2 separate regions of the Homo sapiens genome follow, and region 1 is linked to region 2. The links are contacts of gene promoters, found by promoter capture Hi-C in blood cells and fetal thymus (Javierre and others, 2016). All regions are on one chromosome and are shown on one strand. Each heading gives the region's core, a stretch centred on a gene start or on the middle of the fragment in contact. The rest is flanking DNA. Distances are from core to core; before and after follow the strand shown. Region 1 holds the start of VAMP2 (vesicle associated membrane protein 2). Region 2 overlaps PIK3R5 (phosphoinositide-3-kinase regulatory subunit 5).

Region 1 (3,062 bases), core at 328-2,827, 790 kb before region 2:
TTTGGCTGAAGAGTAAAAACTAGATTAATGACCTTCAAAACCTAGAATCCACTGGGGAAACCTCTCCAGGGAAAGGGCCCCGGCCATTCTCACCCTACTCACCTATGATGATGATGAGGATGATGGCGCAAATCACTCCCAAGATGATCATCATCTGGGGGTGAGAGGCGAGGATCAGTAAGACAAACTATGATACCCCATTCACCCACCTGTCCTCCTTCCTGTCCCCACCCTTACCTTGAGGTTTTTCCACCAGTATTTGCGCTTGAGCTTGGCTGCGCTTGTTTCAAACTGGGAGGCCCCCGCCTGGAGTGCATCTGCACGGTCGTCCAGCTCCGACAGCTTCTGGTCTCGCTCCAGGACCTTGTCCACGTTCACCCTCATGATGTCCACCACCTGGGAGAAGGGCCCACGAGGCAGGGGGGTGTGCCAAGGCCCACCTCAGTGAGGGCAATCCTCAAACATGTGCCCACCGTGCCACACATGGAACATGCACCCTGATACTGCCAGGTTAACATGCCAAGGACACACAGAACATGCCTAGCACACCTGGGGACATGCAAGGAGCACACATCAGGGGCATGCTGGTGACATCTCAGATGTCATAGCAACACCCTCCCTCTATGGAACCTCAGGCGCTCTGTCCATCACCAGAGCACACCTGCCCAGGCTGGCACACCCCAGGCTAGCAAAGCTGATTAACACCCCCAGCGCCCTTCCAAGTGCGTGCTGACAGGGAGACAGGGATGGGGCATGGTATCTTTGTCCGCAAACCCACAGGCGTGAACTGTCATCACTCCCAAACCAACATGGGCCCCTACACCTATACGCCAACCCCCAGGGTCCCTCCTACTGCTTTTGACTCCCCCCACACTCACCTCATCCACCTGGGCCTGGGTCTGCTGCAGTCTCCTGTTACTGGTGAGGTTTGGAGGGGGTGCAGGGGGACCACCCTCCCCAGCCGGGGCAGCAGGGGGGGCCGTGGCAGCGGTAGCAGACCTGAGGAGCAGGGACGGATTAAGACCCAGGGCCTGCAGCCTCCCGGCCCCGCAGCCAGGGCTCCGCCCATCCACCTGTCCATCCTCGTCCCTCCAGTCCTCCTTTTCGGGAGGAAGGCCACCCGATGTAAGCCCTGGTCTCGGTCCAGCCCTGCCGCCGATGAGCTGCGTGACCTTGAGCGAGGCCCCCCCGGCCTCAGTTTCCCCGCCTGTCAACTGAGGGCGACCTCACAGATGCGATCCGGGTCGACCCGAAAAGACAGGCGGCCGCGGTGACAGGGGCGGGGAGGGGCAGGAGGACACTGGGTCCGCTCCTTCCCGCGGCCATCGCCCGAGCCGGCCAGCCCGGGACGCGGGGCTCCTCGGCCGCCCGCGCGCAGTCACCGGCTTGGGCCTGGCCCCGGGGCGCGGGGAACGCAGGAGAGACCCCGGGCACTCCCGACGGCCGGTTGCCAAGGGCGGCGGCCGGCGCAGGGAAGCGCGGTGAGGGTGGCGGGCGGCCGACTCACATGGCGGGGGCAGCGGGTGGAGGACTTGGCAGCGGCAGTGATGGCGGCGGCGGCTCGCGCTGGCTCCGACTGGCGCTGGCTGCCCGGGACGGAAAGATGGCGGCCGCGCGTCACCCGCATCCGGGCACTGCGGGCGGGGGCGGGGCGCCGCGGGAGACGCGTCGCGAGCGGGGCCGCGGGGGCGGGGCGCTGCGGGGCGCTGCGGGGCGGGGGTCGTGCCGGGCAGGACCACGGGCCCCGCGCCACCATGCCCCGGCAGCTCCCTCGGCACTCGCGGGACCCCAAGGCGGGCTGCTGCGGCTTCCCCAAACCCACCGCCACCCCACCCTGTCTGACCACAGCCCCCCCAAACCGCCTGCCGCCTGCCCCTTAGAGCACAACGCAGCCTGGCCCTACACCTAACCCCCAGACCACTCCCTCAATCGTGAACCCAGTAAACCAGCCTGCACCCCACACAGCCCAAGGTCTTGCCCCGCGCCCAGGTCCCAGCACCTAGCGACCCGCCTTCAGCACTTGGAATGGGCTGGAGTTGGGAAATCAGAGAGGGCCAGTGCAGGTGCTGGGGCAGTATCGAGAGCGGGGACCTTACTGCTAGGGTGGAGAGGAGTGGGGGAGATTGGTCCCAACCCATCACCGCTGGTGGATGTCTCAGAGGAAGCCTGGGGTCCCTGGCCACTGGGTAGGAGGGTAGGAAGAAAAGATGAGGCAGGCTCTTCCCGCCCAAACAAGTCCAGGGGGCGGAGGACGGGGGAGTGTCTACAGGGTGTGGGGAGGGGGCTGCCCCGCCTCACGATTAAGGTTCAGACTAGGGGTACTTAACCGCTGGAGCAGGCCCGACTGAGGTGGGGTGAGCTGAGGACCCCGAGGAGGAGGGCACAAGGCTGCCGGGGGTGATGGGGGCAGGGGCTGCTTCACGTGGTGGCTGCTGACTGGCCAAGACCTAGCTTTGCCCCAGGCTTAGGTCAGCGACCCGACTGCAGGAAAGGGCTCAGGCTTTGGTCCCAGGCACAGGGCCTGGGCCAAAAAAAAAAAAAAAGCCTTTTTTCTTTTTCTCTCATTTTTTTTTCTTTAGTAGTAGGCACAGTGGGCACAGGTTACAAGGTGCTGCTTTACATGCGTATTCGCCTCGCAGGTGTGACCTTGGACCGTTGCCCTCCTCTCTCTGGACCCCAAATACATTGCATATGTAGGTACTAAATCCATATTTGTTAAATGGCTTGATGTGGATAACATAGGAGATTATCCCTGGCTGGTCTCCATTAGGCCCTCTAAGCACACCCAGCAGCTGTATACACTCCCACCCAGCTTGTCAGAGAAGATGGGACCAGGGGAGCTGTCGCTCTGGTGGAGTGCAGGGGGTCAAAGCAAGCCTCAAGGGTGCAGGAGGCATTTTAGGCGAGGCCCTTTGGCCCTGGGGTGGGGGTGCTTACTACATCCCTGGAAGGTGCAGGGAGGCTGATGGCCTTGATCTCTAAGACAAACAGGAACCAGCTTCCTCCCTCCCCCACCCTGGCTTCCCAGGGCCTCCGGGTGTGAGATCCTCCCCCACTGCAGT
Region 2 (2,863 bases), core at 68-2,567:
AGGCAATCACTCATTCAGCAAGCACTGATTGAATGACAAGTGCTGGCCCCTGCAAGGCACTGGAGAGTCAGCACTGAACAAAATGATTGGAAAGCTTCCCTCATTGGGAAGGGGATGAGTGAGGCAAGAACACACGTTAGGTCTTGGGAAAACTGAGTCAGGCAGTCTGGCTGGAGGAGAGCGTGATGATTCGTGGAGAAAGGAGTGGGACTCAACTTCGAAACCTGAACAGAAGACTAAGGACTCTGGACTCTCCCTAAGCAGTGGGGTGCCATCAAAGTATCTGAACACAGTGACATAGAAGTTTTCATAAGAAGAATCTCCTGGTGAAGAGAGGAAGAGCCTGTGGTCCAAAAGGCCCACCAGAGGCATATGGTAAATAAAGCCAAATTGGGTAGGAGAGAGAACAATGGGGAAGTGAGAGAAACAAGAGCCATGGAGAAAGGAAGCACCATCAAAACGGGCTGGGGAGTGGGGAACAAGGAAGATGGAGGGAGGACTCGGAGATGAGTCCAAGGTTTCAAGGCTGGGAGTCTGGTTTCAGCAGAGACAGAAATGGGGAAGTCTGCACAGGAAGCCTGCTTTGTGGATGCAGAGTTGGGCTCTGGATATTGCTCAAGTTGAAATAGGGCATCAAGTGAAAATAACCCGCATGTACTTGGAGGCCGAAGCAGGTAGATCACTTGAGCCCAGGAGTTTGAGAACAGCCTGGGCAACATAGTGAGACCCTGTCTCTACAAAAAACACACACAAAAAATTAGCTGGGCGTGGTGGCATACACCTGTAGTCCCAGCTACTCAGGAGACTGAGGCAGGAGGATCATCTGAGCCTGGGGAGGTTGACACTACAGTGATCTGTGATCGTGCCACTGTACTCCAGTCTGGGTGACAGAGTGAGACCCTTTCTCAAAAATAAAAAATAAAACAAAAATTTGTCGGGCATCAGACTTTATGGAGACTTCAAAAAAAAAAAAGATGCAGGTTGGGAAGAGACTATTGGAACTTGCCATTCCAGAGCCACCAGTGACCTGAAAGGAAGCCTTCCAGCAGAAGCATGGGCTAGAGGGTGGGTTTCTGCCATTGAGGTCTGAAGAGGGACTCATAGTCACTGGGAGTCCTGTCATAAGGTGGCACCATGAGGGAAGGAGCAGGTCCCCTCTCTGCTCAGCCCATCAGAGCAGCTCCCACAAGAAAACTCTTGGAGAGCAGGCTTTGAAAACTCCCAGGTGGTCAGAATCATAGAGTCCAGTTGGTCCAGGAGGAAACAGACTCAGCAAGATGAGGAAGTAATTAGGGGCCAGGACTAGAGATTACATCTCCTATTCCCATCCTGTAGCCCGTACATCACATCACAGCCCCCTGTGTTCTCTTAAGCACAATAACAGGCCAAGGAGAGCGCAGAGCTTTTCGTTTTCTCAAAATGAAACTCTCAACATGGTACAGAAGTGAATGCACAGTGCAAAGACCTATGAAACATTGACGTGAAAACCCCAAGAACAAGAGGACATCAATTCCCAGCTCAACCTGGAGGTGAGATAGGTTGGCCCCAAGATCTTATCTGGGACACTCACGGAGGAAGGCAATTTTGAAATGGTGTTCAATTAGTTTATTTTACCAAGTATCAGAAGGAGCCAAGAACAAGAGACCTCAAGAAAAGCCCATGCTCCCAGCAGAGGATGTGGGCGAGGATCCCAGTATCCATGAATGGCTATGGTTTTCTCACAGCCAAGGTGCTTCTGCTGCGGAGAACGGGCTGTGAAGCAGGGCTGTGGGGTTTCTGAGCAAACTGCCCAGCTTTGGGACCTGTTTATTCAAGGTCACTGAACTACTCAAACTCAAATCATGTTCTCAGAACAACCAGCGTTTACACAACCAGTCAGACATGGCCACCATGATTTAGAGAACTACAGGCTCTTTAAAAATAAGCTATATTGGTCTCCTTTCTCACGGCTATCATTTCCATAATATATAACATGTATTTTCCCTGCATACTTCCCCAACGGGAAACTAGCCACCACGAAGCCTCCCATTCCACTGTTGACCTGCTCTGAATTTCTCTGAGATCTTCCTTCTAGTGAGCTGGAGTCTATTTTCTTACAATTTTCCTTCTGTCATCCCTTTTCCATTCCAGAGAATGACACCCAGTTGAGAAGTCTTCACCTTTTTCAAAGGACACTGCTCGTCAAACATCTGAAGACAGATACTACTTCTCCTCTGTCTTCTCTTCTTGGAGAAAAACCTCGCTACTTCTTAATTACTTCATATTCTGTCATCGCTATCCTGGTCACCTATCTCTGGATATGAAGTGGTTGCTCAGCATCCTCCAAATGCAGCACCTGGAATTCACTCAAGGTGGATATGCCCAGTTCAGTGTGGAAATAGGCATGCTTGTTAGCTGAAGGGCATATAAAGTAAGGACCCATGGGACCTAGTGGCTGAACATTGGAAGCCAAGAATCAAAGATGGCTCTCGGGCATGAGCCTGGGAGCTCTGAGGTTTACAGATTTGTACCTGGGAGGACTGAGGAAGAGAGAAGAGAAGGAAGCTTGGGGAGTGGGAAGCCAAGAATCCCACAGTGGAAGACCTCAAGACTGGAGCCGTTCTCCCAGCTTCCAAGGAGCAGCTCATTCCCCGCTCTATAAGCTGTCACAGGGCGTGGGAGAAGGTAACGTGCTTCCAAAATCATTTGCAAAGTCAGTATATCAAAAACTGACAACGGCAGCACAGAAAAGGAAAATAGAGGTCAAATTCATTTCATGCAAAAATCCTAAAGAAAGGTGGGATGCGGTGGCTCACTCCTATAATCCCAGCACTTTGGGAGGCCAAGGCTGGTGGATCACTTGAGGCCAGGAGTTCGAGAGCAG

What was found. Contacts are between HindIII fragments. The CHiCAGO score rates a contact against its expected background, and 5 or more counts as called.
Region 1: the fragment with the promoter of VAMP2 here is called in contact with a fragment that was not itself captured in region 2 in 1 of 17 cell types (naive CD8 T cells); the score reaches 5.6 in naive CD8 T cells.

The regions. Positions count from the first base shown.
Region 1 is chr17:8,161,371-8,164,432 of GRCh38, forward strand. VAMP2 (vesicle associated membrane protein 2) reads right to left here and starts at 1,578. Exons shown (of 5, transcript NM_014232.3): 1 at 1,508-1,578; 2 at 879-999; 3 at 238-396; 4 at 103-154. The coding sequence starts at 1,509. RefSeq lists an enhancer at 746-795 and silencers at 906-1,015, 1,306-1,495, 1,656-1,755, 1,886-1,945. The HindIII fragment of the contact is 9,788 bases long and covers 1-3,062 here.
Region 2 is chr17:8,955,254-8,958,116 of GRCh38, forward strand. The region is part of intron 1 of PIK3R5 (phosphoinositide-3-kinase regulatory subunit 5); the gene reads right to left. Among named protein-coding and RNA genes, the nearest start is that of PIK3R5, 9.0 kb to the right of the region's middle. RefSeq lists an enhancer at 1-430. The HindIII fragment of the contact is 2,450 bases long and covers 93-2,542 here.